Regions from separate parts of the Homo sapiens genome. Here region 2 is linked to region 1. Evidence: promoter capture Hi-C in 16 types of primary human blood cells and fetal thymus (Javierre and others, 2016). All regions are on one chromosome and are shown on one strand. The core of a region is centred on a gene start or on the middle of the fragment in contact, and the rest is flanking DNA. Distances in the headings are between cores, read along the strand shown. Region 1 holds the start of ACP7 (acid phosphatase 7, tartrate resistant (putative)). Region 2 has its middle 18 kb from the start of LGALS16.

The links. Contacts are between HindIII fragments. The CHiCAGO score rates a contact against its expected background, and 5 or more counts as called.
Region 2: a fragment that was not itself captured here is called in contact with the fragment with the promoter of ACP7 in region 1 in 1 of 17 cell types (total B cells); the score reaches 8.7 in total B cells.

Annotation. Positions count from the first base shown.
Region 1 is chr19:39,080,175-39,086,846 of GRCh38, reverse strand. It overlaps ACP7 (acid phosphatase 7, tartrate resistant (putative)), which reads right to left and starts at 2,479. Exons shown (of 13, transcript NM_001004318.3): 1 at 2,447-2,479; 2 at 1,457-1,755. The coding sequence starts at 1,577. RefSeq lists an enhancer at 2,126-2,626. The HindIII fragment of the contact is 23,028 bases long and covers 1-3,673 here.
Region 2 is chr19:39,670,187-39,677,172 of GRCh38, reverse strand. No RefSeq gene overlaps it. Among named protein-coding and RNA genes, the nearest start is that of LGALS16, 18 kb to the right of the region's middle. The HindIII fragment of the contact is 2,222 bases long and covers 3,853-6,074 here.

The sequences.
Region 1 (6,672 bases), core at 1,230-3,729:
AATACCTTATTTAGTAAATATTGCTAGCTGTAATGCACATAAACTAAAGCTCTTTGAACTTCTCCATAAATTTTAGTTCTCCATAAAATTTAGTGATGTAAAATGGTCCTGAGATTAACAGTTTAAAACAAACAGTCCTGAGATTTAAAGTGTATGGAAATTGCTGCTACATGCCAAGCTCCGTTCTATCCCCCTCCCCCCCCCCTTTTTTTTTTTTGAGACAGGGCCTCATTCTGTCAGCCAGGTTGGAGTGTAATGGCATGATCTTGGCTCATTGCAACCTTTGCCTCCTGGGCTCAAGCGATCCTCTTGCCTCAGCTCCCCAAGCAGCTGAGACCAGGCGTGAGCCACCATGCCCAGCTAATTTTTTAATTTTTTTGTAGAGACCGGGTTTCACCCATGTTACCCAGGCTGGTCTTGAACCCCTGAGGTCAAGTGATCCACCCACCTCAGTGTCCCAAATTGCTGAGATTACAGGCATGCACCACTGTGCCTGGCCTCCTCCACATTTTTTTTTTTAAAGACAGGGTCTCTCTCTGTTGCCCAGGCTGGAGTGTAGTGGCCAATCATGGCTCACTGCAGCCTTGAACTCCTGGGCTCAAGCGATCCTCCCACCTCAGTCTCCCAAGTAGCTGGGACTATAGGTGCATGCCACCACACCTGTCTAAGATTTTTTCTTTTTCCCTAAGAGGCAGAGGTCTCACTATGTTTCCTAGGCTGGTCCCAAACTCATGAGCTCAAGTGATCCTTCCGCCTCAGCCTCCCAAACTGCTAAGACTACAGGTGTGAGCCCCCACACTCAGCCTCAGTTCTGCCCCTTTACAGGTAGCAACTCATTTACACCTCACCATGAGGTTGTACTAATATTACCCCATTATCCAGATGAGGAGACTGAGGACAGAGAGGTTAAGCCACTTGCCCAAGATTAGGCAGCAGGTACATAGCAAAGCTGGGATTCTAACCCACGTGGTCTGGGTGCCAATGGTCCAGAGTCCAAGCTCTTACTCCCACAGTGGAAGGATCCTAATCAAAGATCGGGAGGCAGTCAGCCTCGTGGGGAAGAGGAGAAGAGGGATGGAGAAGGGGCTGGGTAACCCAGCTCTGTTATCATTCATCCACTGGTTCCTTCCACAACTGGCTCTGAGGCCTACCGTGCATGAACGAACAAACGTGCCAGGTCCCGGAAACACAACAGAGATGCAATGAACAAGGACAGCAGCGGTCCCCTTTTGAGAGCAGGGGAGCACTCTCTGTGGGCTGAGCACCATGATCATTCCCCACACTTCCAGGTGTTCCACAGCCTGTACTTCCTATTCCACAGAGGTGGATGATGGAGGCTCAGGAGGAATGAGCCACCCGCCTAGGGGCTCACAGTGTGGGATTCCTGAGCCCTCAAACAACGAAGCACCGCTGGGCCTCTCTGGTAGAGGCATAGAAATGAGTCAGGGACACTTACCTGGGTAAGACAGATGGACTTGCTCTGGGGCAGCGCTGGGAGCCCCCAGGGACCCCTGGACTCCCAAGGAGAATAGCAGGAGTAGACAGTAACAGGACCAGTAGCCAGGAAGGGGGTGCATGGTGGTGGGGTGGTGATGGCAGACCGGGGAAAAGCAGGGGGACTGAGGAGATCAGCTCCCCACAGGTACAGCAGGAAGGGCTGGGAGGATGGGGAACAGAGGATGATCAGGCAGTGCTCTGGGGGACAACAGAGGCAGGGCAGGGAGGTCTCCTTCAAGATGGGTGGTTATCCAGGTGCTGGAGAGAGAAACCAAAAATAAGAATCGCTAAGGAACAGCAGCAGAGCTCTCTGAGCCTCACTCACAGTGTGCCAACCGCTTGACATAGATTAATTCACGGAAGCCTCACGACATTGCTATGAAGTGGTGGCTGTGAGCATTGTCATCCCCATATCACAGATGAGGAAACCGAGCAGCTGAGTGATTCAGCTGCACAGCTAGGATGGGATGGAGCCAGGATTTGAACCCAGGAGGGCCTGATTCCAGAGCCTTGCTCCTAACCAGAGCTCACTCTCAGTGCTGGGGGTCTGGGAGCGGGGTGGAGGCTGTGTAGGAGGTTGCATTCCGCAGCCCCATCCCCAGCTTTCCATCCTGCTGTTAGAAACCCCAGTTCTCCTACCTACTCCCGAGATTCCAAGCATTCCCGCCTGCCCCCGGGACCTCGCCTCCCTACTCCATCCTTAGCCTTCTATTTTGCTCCTAGTGACCCCAATCCTCCCACACCACCCCCAGATCCTTTAGAGCCCATCATGGCCAGAGCGGCCGCATCCTCTCTCCCCATCCCCAGCGTCCCTGCCCTTCCCCCATCTGTACCCACCCCCCTTCTCTCCAGCGCTTTCCCGCCTGCTCCAGCTCCGTCTCCAGCTGCCAGGATGGAGCCGGGTCGGGACCATCCGGGAAAGGGGACGCCCTCCCGGACCCCGGCTCACCCTCGGGGGCGCCGGCTGCCCGCACGCGCCTCTCCCGCCACCAGCGCCGCCCCGGTATTTATGAGTTCGCGGGTGCCGAGGCCTCTTGCCGCCTACAGCCGTCCCAGCCCCGGAAGAGCCGGTCGCCTCGGGGTGACAGCCTCCCTAGACAGCCAGGGCCCCGGGTCCCACAGGTCCGGCCGGTCCTGCCTGGGCGCCCCACACCCACCCGCCCACCCCACCAGGGCGTGGCGCGGGAAGGGGGACCCAGGAAGGTTATGATACGTCTCCGGCGCGCCACCTCTGAGCCGGCCACCAGGTGAGAGCCCAGGCAGGTAACCCTGCGCTCGTCCCTCAGGCGCCCACTCATCAGCTGGGGAGCCCCAGGGCACGGACACCGGCCCCTATCCTGGCCCTGCCCGATCCCCAGGTACCCAGGTGTGCAGGACCGGGGGATCCCCAACCTTTCCAGCCTCGCTGCATCTTCCTCCAGCCTTCCGGCTTCCTTCCTTTCCATGCTGAGCCCACTGACCCCTCCTCAGAAGCCCGGGGCAACCTCAAAACAAAACCAGAATCCCGGAATTGCAGTGGGCTTTCTGAGCTGTGCGACCTAGGTGAGTTATTCAACCTCGCTGGACCTTGGGTTTTTTCACCTGTAAAAAGGAGGTGATGCTCGTATATACCCCGTGGGCTGTTGTGAGGAGTAAACGAGTTGCTGCATGAAATTTCATGCCGATAACAGGGCCCGGCCCAGAGTAAGGGCTGGATAAGAATCAGCTGTTCTTTTTAATCGTATTAATGCAGGAACTCCAGAAACTGACGTCTAGGGAACAAGTTAGGGTTCTCCCCTGTAAACCTTTGCAATCTGTTTGAACGTGAGGAGCGGCTGCCACAAAAAGAGAAGCAGGGAAGAACTGGGGGGGCCCGGATTTCCAGTCGTTTCCCCTTCCTGACTGCAGATACAATGACCCGCCACCACTTGGCTTTGTAAATTCAGAGCACATAGGCTTCTACTGATTGTGGACACCAATTTCAGAAATTGGCACTAGGAGTGTGGGAAAATCAAAACGAGCCCTTTGCACTGTTTGAGTTTTTTTTTTTTTCTTCCCACTTCCAGAGTCTCCATTACAGCCTAAAATATAATGAAAGTAGCTCTCATAACCAAACTTGAGTACCTGCCACTCCTGTGGCCCCCAATTATAACCTCCCCGTATTCTTAGTTCGTCCAGAATGGGAGGTTCCTAAGCTTTTTTGTGCTAAAGATGCCTATGGCAAGCTGGTCAAGCCCTTCTCAGGATCATGTCGTTACATGCATAATATAAATACACAGAAATACAAAGGAAACCAGTGCTATTGTGATACAAGGTGTTGGGGGGTTTTTTTGTTGTTGTTGTTTTGTTTTTGTGTTTGTTTTTTGGTTTTGTGTGTGTGTGTGTTTTGTTTTTGTTTTGAGACAGAGTTTCACTCTGTTGCCCAGGCTGGAGCACAGTAACACGATCTTGGCTCATTACAACCTCTGCCTCCTGGGTTCATGCGATTTTCGAGCCTCAGCCTCCCGAGTAGCTGGGACTACAGGCATGAACCTGGCTGAAAACGAGAAGTTTTAAAAACACACGAATATACATGCATATATTTCTATTAGCCATCAGAGTGATGACATTATCACAGGTCAGGTAGTCTCTGGAGAATGAAAAGGACAAACGTCTTAATATCATTATGAAAATACTTTTGACCTCACTAGCCCCTGAGAAAGGTCTTGCGGACCCACAGGTGCCCCCAGACCACATTTTGAGAACTGCTAGATTAAAGTGTAGTAAAAGGAGAGGTAAAAAAAGTTTCCCCTATCCAAGTTCACGTAGCTCCTGAATTCCCAACCACCAGCCCAGGTGAAAAGAGCCCACTGGAGTTGCCTCTGGTTGGACCCTGACTGGCGGATGAGGGCTTATAGCTCAGGTATAAGCTTGCGGTGGGGAATGGAGCATCGACTCTGGGGCTAGATGGCCTGGTTATAAATCTATCTTCAGCACTGACTAACTTAGACAAGTGATTTAACCGCACGGTGCCTCGGTTTCCCCATCTGTGAAATGGGAACAATAGTAGCACCTTATAGGGTTGTTGCAAGGATTAAATAATAAACCCCTTAGAACAGTGCCTAGCACAGAGCAAGTGCCCCCGTATAATCTTCTAATTATCATTATAATAATTAGAAGATTATTGATAATAATCTTCTAATTATTACCAAGACATCTAGTCTGCCCAGTTTGTAAGGCAGAGTTTTAATAAGCCTAGTTTTCTAAGTCACTTTACTCTGTCCCCCAGGCTGGAGTGCAGTGGTGTGATCTCGGCTCACCGCAAACTCCACCTCCCGGGTTCTAGCCATTCTCCTGCCTCAGCCTCCCAAGTAGCTGGGACTACAGGCACGTGCCGCCACACCCAGCTAATTTTTTGTATTTTTAGTAGAGACAGGGTTTCACCTTGTTAGCCAGGATGGTCTTGATCTTCTGACGGCGTGATCCGCCCGCCTCGGCCTCCCAAAGTGCTGGGACTGCAGGCGTGAGCCACCGCGCCCGGCCTTGTATTTTTAGTAGAGACGGGGTTTCACTGTGTTGGCCAGGCTGGTCTCGAACTCCTAGACTCAAGTGATCTGCCCACCTCGGCCTCCCAAAGTGCCGGGATTACAGGTGTGAGCTGCTGTGCCCAGTCAATTTAAACCTTTTAAATTATGAAATGTGATATACATGCAGAAAAGTAATGAGACATAAATGTCCCACTGAATAAATATGACAAAGTGAACACAACTGTGTAACCACCAACCGGGTGCAAGAAAAATAATCTTATCGCCTTCCCCCAAGCCCCCTCCTGCTTCCTCTCCAGCACAGCTTTCTTCCTTCCCATGAAGAAATCCACTTAACTTTTACCTGACTTTGGTTTCCCCACCTAAGTACACCTCCCTACACACAGTGGTTTCATTTTGCCTATTTTTGCACATGGCGTAAATAGAAATATACAGGTTTAACTCTTTCACTCAACTTTATGATTGGGAAATGTATCTGAGTTGGGCGCATAATTGCAACCCATTTTCTTTCTCATTGCCAAGCAGCCCTCCACTGTGTGAATACACCCCAATTTATGTATCACTGGTGGTTTTTTGTTTGTTTGTTTTTGTTTTTGTTTTGTTCTTTTGAGACGGAGTTTCGTTCTTGTTGCCCAGGCTGGAGTGCAATGGGGTGATCTTGGCTCACTGCAACCTCCGCCTCCCAGGTTCAAGCGATTCTCCTGCCTCAGCCTCCTGAGTAGCTGGGATCACAGGCATGCACCACCACACCTAGCTAATTTTGTATTTTTTAGTAGAGATAAGGTTTCACCATGTTGGCCAGGCTGATTTCGAACTCCCGACCTCAGGTGATCCGCCTGCCTCAGCCTCCCAAAGTGCTGGGATTACAGGCGTGAGCCACCGTGCCCAGCCATCAGTGGTTTATTTATCAATTTATTTATCAGTTGGTTTATCTATCAAAACCAATTGTCAATGGAATTTTGAGTTACTTCCTTTTTTTTCGGCTTTTGCAAATAGTGCTGTGATCAACATTCTAGTACATATTTTGTTAAACATATATACACATTTCTCTTGGATGTAAACTAGAAGTATAAGATGGCTGGGTCATAAGGTGCATGTATCTTTATCTTTGGTAGATACAGCCAAAGAGGTTTCCAAAGTGGTATTTCTTCTCCTCCCACCAGCCACGTTAGAACACTTCCATTGTTCCACATCGCTGCCAACACTTGGAACCAATAAAGCATTGTCAGGTGCTTTATTTTTAGTCATTCTGGTGGGTGTGTAGAGGTAGCTCATTGTAGCTTTAATTTGCATTTCCCTGCTGAGTAATGAAATTGAACATCTCTTCATTTGCATATCAGCCTTTTGGATATCCTTTTTGTGATGTGCTTGTTCAAGTGTCTTGTCCGGTTTTCTACTGGGTTGTCCATTTTTATTGGTTTATTTATTTTTATTTTATTTTATTTTTTAGATAAAGGGTCTTGCTCTGTCACCTAGGCTGTAGTGCAGTGGCATCATAGCTCACTGCAGCCTCTACCTCCCTGGCTCAAGCAATCCTCCCACCTCAGCCTCCCAGTAGCTGGGACCACAGGCATGCACCACCACCATGCCTGGCTAATTTTGTTTATTTCTATTTTTATTTATTTATTTATTTGAGACAGAGTCTCACTCTGTTGCCCAGGCTGGAGTGCAA
Region 2 (6,986 bases), core at 3,714-6,213, 590 kb before region 1:
TTGTTAAGACCATGCCACCAGTTTCCTTTGCAGTTATGCCATGTTTTTAGAAATTAGATCCTACATATGGGTTTCAGCACTCAGCACTCTCTTCCCTGTGCTTGCAGGATGTGAGGGTTTCTTTAAATGCTATCATCAGGAACATCTAGTGTTCAAAGTGTGCCTTTAATTGGTAGTTGGTGAGCATGAATAAGTCCCTCTCCTTTTTTCATTCATTCATTCATTCTTTTTTTTTTTTTTTTTTAGATGGATTCTCGCTCTGTTGCCCAGGCTGGATTAAGTGGTGTGACCTTGACTCACTGCAACCTCCACCTCCTCCTGAGCTCAAGCGATTCTCCTGCTTCAGCCTCTTGAGTAGCTGGGACTACGGGCACCTGCCACCATGCCTGGCTAATTTCTGTATTATTATTTTTTTTTTTGAGACACAGTCTCACTCTGTCACTCAGGCTGGAGTGCAGTGGTGTGATCTTGGCTCACTGCAACCTCTGCCTCCTGGGTTCATGCCATTCTCCTCCCTCAGCCTCCCAAGTAGCTGGGACTACAAGCACCTGCCACCACACCCAGCTAATTTTTTGTATTTTTAATAGAGACAGGGTTTCACTGTGTTAGCCAGGATGGTCTCGATCTCCTGACCTCGTGATCCGCCCACCTCGGCCTCCCAAAGTGCTGGGATTACAGGCATGAGCCACTGCGCCCAGCCAATTTCTGTATTTTTAGTAGAAATAGGGTTTTGCCATGTTGATCAGGCTGGTCTTGAACTCCTGACCTCATGATCCACCAGCCTCAGCCTGGGATTACAGGCGTGAGCCACTGAGCCCAGCTCTTTCTTTCTTTTTGTAAAAATAATTCCAATGCAGTTAAAACCAAACCAAATACTTCCAGAATCCTATGATTCCCATTGTACCCCTACCATTCTAGTGCCACAGCTTCTGGAGTCCAGTGCTTCACCTTCTCTCAGCACTTCCTGCCAAGAACACACAGGCGACTATGCTTAGTCATTGTGAACTCGTAATTGTAATACCAAGCAATACTTAGTAATTGTGATACTTAGTATGCCATGGGTAATCACTACTTCACTTACCAGCAATGGATCTTTACAGTGATCTGCCCAATAAGAGATTTAGGTTCCCAGTATGAGGGTCCAGCTGCTTTCTATGACTTTTTCTGGCATAAGCTTGGTTTTCACCCTCACCCCGACCAAATAAGAAATGTTTCTTAGTACTCTCTGCCCAGAAGATGAAAGGAAGTATTTATCCATCTGCCCCCATCCCCAGTTGTTAAAAAGTCATCCTGTTGGCATTAAGTCTCCCACAACTTTGGTTTGCAAATGCATGGGTGCTGAGAGGATTTCTGCAAAAGTCCTATTCTACCATCTCAAAGAAGCCCAGTGCTGGAAAGAGGAAGGTACTGGAAAGATAGATACTAAGGAGAGGCACTGTCAGTGTGTACCTGCATGAAGCTAGTGAACAACTGTCTGGACCTGGTCACCTTAGCAATGGCTGGATGAAGAGGTGGGGCTGAGAGGATAACACGTGGTGCAAGAAATGCCTGATATACTGACCTCTTTTCAATTCCTCATACCACCAAGCTCATTTTCATTTTTGGAGCCTTATATATGACAAAAATTCAAAAAGCATCAAAAAATGTCATAACAAGGCAGGGAGAATGTTCTAGATTAAAAGAGACCAAAGAAGTATAGCACCAAAGTGCATGAAACCTGATTGGATAATGGATTTTAAAACAGCTATAAAGGACATGCTTTTGTACAATTGGGGAAATTAAAATAGTATCATAAATTAGAAGTTGATTCTTAGGTGGTGGCAGAGTAGAACTTCTATCAGTCTTGTGGATCTGAAGATACAAAAATTATAGGTTGTTGTCTGCCAAGTGGGAGAGAGAGTTAGGCTTTTAGTTGGAACCCTGAAAGAGATACACCCTAGAGCAGGGGTCCCCAACCCTCAAGCCATAGAGCAGTAACAATCCGTGGCCTGTTAGGAAAGAAGCCACAAAGCAGGAGGTGAGCAGTGGGTAAGCATTACTGCGTGAGTGGCCTCCTGTCAGATAAGCCCCAGCATTAGATTCTCATAGGAGCACGAATTAGAATTTTACAACCAGAATTCCACATTGTGGGTGCCACAGTGTATAGTTTTATCACAAATAGTAGCATAACTATAACAATTCCCACAAGAGTGGGATAGTAAAAAACATTTGTTTAAAACTTTACTTGTCAAGATATAACATTTCCCTTTGGGGATTTACGGAGTTCCAAGTGCAATTTCATTTATCATTAAAATTTTCTGCAATTATACATTAAAAAGAAGTTTTAATATTTGGTGGCAAATTTTGACAGGAAAGGGCAGAAATGACAACAAGTATATGTTGAGGTAAATGTGGGACTGAGTAAGATGGGTAGACCTTACTCAGTTACTTAATTTTTGTGATTTTTAGCTTAACATTTTCTGCTTTTCCACATGGACATTCTGGATGTTTCTCTGGACTGTTAGGGGTTGCTCCCCCAGCTTTTTAAGCTTTGACTTTAGTGTGATGTATTCAGGAGTTGATTCCTGTAAATTTTACTACTGAGAGGGTTGAAAGAAGAACAGTGGAGGGCCCTTCCCAGCTTGGCTTAGGGAAGGAGAGAGATGAGATTTTTCACTAATACTAAATTTCCTGGATTAAATAAAGATGGTTTTAGTTCCTGGACTTGGGCTTTCACTAGTTGTGTTAATGCCCTGAGACTTCCTTGCCTCTGTCTTAGCTGGCTGACCAGTTAATTTATTTCCTTTGCTTACCTTATTTATTTTCTTTTGATGTTCCCTACAATGCATCCTGCTATTTCTTGTGGAAGAAAAACTGAGGATAATAACCTATTAATTTCCTGGTGATATTTTATGGGAGATTCATTAGTGGTAAGAAAATGCCTTTCCTTTTAAATAGCAGCATGAGCATGGACAATTAGGAAAGCATACTTGGAGTTAGTAGAAATGTTAGCTATCTTTCTCTGGCTTAATTTAAGTGCTCTTGTAAGAGCTATTAGCTCAGCTAATTGAGTGCTTGTGTTTGGGGCAGTGACTACTGCTCATCCTGCCTTATGTACTTCTTGCTTTACTGGCTGTTTACTAGCTAAGAGCTCCCCTTAGAGGTCAGTGATCCTGCCACATTATGTGGGCTGTAAACAGTTGAATTATTTCCTAGGGTTAACTTGGAGGCTTTTTTGACTAGTAGAGCTATTATGACAATGACTTGGAAGCACGTGTAAATAGGTCTTTCTAACTACAGCTAAGGTTGAAAAAAATATTGGATTAGAGTTTTTCCCGAGATGCCCTTTACAGTTGTGCTATGAGAAGAGCGGAGGCCTGGATTAGAGAGGAGAAAAGAGAGAGACTGGCTCTAGTGCTTAGAAGGAGGTTTACTTTCCTTTTGTAAATTTCCAGAATCCTCTAGGACTCCTGTGCTCTATGGCAGTTTGAGTCACTGGAGCCAATGTTGGAGCCCTTGGACCCATCATTCCTGCTGGACCATCTGTGAGGCTGATTTTGAACCCAGTGACCTCTGCCTCTGGGGGTAGTTCTGTTTCCAGTGGTTTTTGCCACAGCCTGGATAGGGTTGAGTTTGCTTCATCTTGCTGCCTGGGCATTCCTTTTAAAAATGCTCTGGGCTGCCATGCCAATAGCAACTAGTGGATGTACCTTGGGGATTCTGGACTTTACAAGCTTGCAAAGCTGCTGCTGGAGCCTCTGTCCTTCTCTTGAGATTCCCCCGCTTTTGTTGGGACTCCTCCTTGTCCCTATTATAAAAGACCAAAGTCGCCACTTGCAGGAGGTTCTCTAAGGTGGTATTTTGTCCTAAGCTTGCTTTTTTAGTTTTAATATCAGGAGCTGCTTTTGTAATAAACTTCTCCTTCAAAATGAGCTGTTCCTCCATTGAATTAGGGGATAAGGAGATGTACTCTATTAGTGCCTCTCTTGGCCTTTCCATAAAGGCTACAGAATTATTATCTGGCTTTTGGTTCATTATAGACAGCTTAGAGTAACTGAGAGGTTTGGCCCTGGTTTCCTCTAGGCCTTTTATAGTGAGTATTAAAAAGTACTTCCTTTTCCTATCATTTCCTGAGCTATTGAAGTTTTAGTTAGGGTTGTTTATGAGAACCGCTTCCCTCCCATTTAGTAAAAATGCCATGTCCTTGTGCAAAAGAAAATAAATTGCTTTTCTCTTTACAGTTTTGAGATTAAGGAAGTTTCAGTGTTTCAGAGTGCACTCCAGAGGGGTGCAACCTAAAGATAATTTATTATCCATTTAGAAAAAGAAGAAAGAATACAAAGCATCTTCTTAGTCTCCTTCCTTTTGGTATGACCCAGAGTGGAGGAGCAGACAGGGAGCATCCTCTGATTACTTCCCCTCCCTGGTTTCTGGATCCCGGCACCATGTTAAATGTGCCACCCATGGCTGTAGGTGTGGTCCTCCAAGCCATAGAGCTGGATGAACTAAGTGATGGGGCTACCCGTGCTTACCCATGCAGTCTTAGCTTATCTGCCTTGTGTGATTTACCTTTGATTTCCTAAACATGTGCAGTTTGCCTGGCTCCCTGAAAACGGATCTCCGGGGAGACTGTGTCACCTCTGGGCAAGGCTCCTTTAATGGAGGCAATGTGCTAGATTGCCTGCTATTATGACCCGTGCTAATGCATTTACCCTTTAAAAAAAACTGTTCTGGTTAACTTCTAAACTTAATATCCCCTTACCAATTAAGTACTGTCTTAATTGGAGACAGAATAGGTGCCTTAAAAGAGTGTAGGAACCGAATGGCAGTTTTCCTACTGATGGGACAATATTGGGACTAAAATCTGGCTGTGGAAGACATCTTACTCCTAATGGTTGAAACCAGAGTTTCCCGTCCACAGAAGTAGCAGTAAAAAAGTGCAAAATGGAGAAATTGTGAAGCTGCAACGTACCACAGAGAACCAAGTGTCTCATGAAGAGGATTTTTATTTCCACCAGGTGGCGGTTTTGGCTTAGAAATACCATGTGCTCACCAGCGAAACCTTAGAGAGACAGACGTTTATTGAGTTACTGCCTGCCTTGATTCATGATCTTCTCTAACAGACCTGTTTCCCTGAACTGTAAAGATTCCTGCACATTAGACACAGTGAGAGAGACAGTAAGAGACCGCGGGTAGAGAGAGAAAGAAAGTTTGGTGGCAGGATAGCTGGAAGAGAGCCTAGAGATTAAAAGACAGATTTAAAGTTGAGATTTGCTCCATACTCACCAGTCTGATGAATGAATTCCCATTCCTGGCCAATGCACCTAAAAGATATGGCTCCGATGACTGGAGGGAACCAGGGTCCTTGGTCTCGTGCTGATAAGATTAACAACATGGACACATGTGGAGTGGTTTTAAGGGGTGAAAAGTTTCATAGGCAAGAAAGAAGGAAGGAAGAAAACAGCTCCCCCGTACAGAGACAGAGAGAGGGGGATTCGAACAAAAAACCCCCCATGCTCCCCACCCTGTGTCCAAGTGTTCTCATTGTTCAATTCCCACCTACGAGTGAGAACATGCGGTGTTTGGTTTTCTGTCCCTGCGATAGTTTGCTCAGAATGATGGGGGGAGGGAAAGCATTAAGAGAAATACCTAATGTAAATGACGAGTTAATGGGTGCAGCACACCAACATGGCACATGTATACATATGTAACAAACCTGCACGTTGTGCACATGTACCCTAGAACTTAAAGTATAATAATAAATAAAAACCTATCACACACACACACATAAAAACCATGTGTGGTGGAAAAGTGATTGCTTATATTGGGATGCTGGAGGAGGCGGCTTCTGGTTTCCATAGGGCCCAGGGGATTGGTTTGACCAGGTGTGTAATTTCTGTAGCCTGTGAAAAATCTGGCCCTCCCATCTTAGCCCTTTAATATGCAAATGCGGGTTGCCATGATGTTTCGAACACATGGTGTTATCTGAAAGTGGCCATGACACTTGGTACACCTGGTGACAAGGAAAAGATGGCAGGAATCACCACATTGAGTGAACCTCGTTTCTAATGACCCAGTATTTGCATATCAAAGCTTGCTCTCCTGGCCCTTCAAGCCACCTTTTCTGTTAGAAAAGAGATGGTTTGGGGGTTGTTTCTTATTACAGGAAAATTTCCACCAAGAACTTTTACCCTTACTATCTACCTAAAAATTATTTCTTAATAACTCCTGTATCACAAGGATGAGAAATAGTGTCCATGTAGGTCCTGAGAATAAAAAAAAAGAGCCTAATCCATGATATATAATACCTAAAAATGGCTTTGGAAGTGCATATTTTATTGTGGCCAATGTTTGACCTCTTTAAAAAGCTATAATATCATGACAGTGTGGTGCTGGCTTAAGGAGAGGCATAGAAATCAAAGGAGTAGAATAGAGAGCCTAGAAACACTCACAGAGGGTCACCTGAGAGTCCACAATGGGCTACGACCATCGCATTGGAAAAGGACAGACTTCTCAACACGTGATGCTGGGAAAACTGGACTTACACATACTGGTCCCTTAGCTTATAACATATACAATAGTGAACTCAAAATGTATCAATGAGTAAACGTAAGACCTTCAATGATAATGATAGGAGAAATGATAATGACAGGCAGATATCATCATGACATGAGATTGGGCAATGATTTCTTGATTATGGGCTGTAAATACAGACAAAGTGCACTTTATCTGTTTTTTCTTTTTTTTTTTTCTTATGTCATTTTCTTTTTTAAAAAATTATTATTATACTTTAAGTTTTAGGGTACATGTGCACAATGTGCAGGTTAGTTACATATGTATACATGTGCCATGCTGGTGTGCTGCACCCATTAACTCATCATTTAGCATTAGGTATATCTCCTAAAGCTATCCCTCCCCCCTTCCCCCACCCCACAACAGTCCCCAGAGTGTGATGTTCCCCTTCCTGTGTCCATGTGTTCTCATTGTTCAATTCCCACCTATGAGTG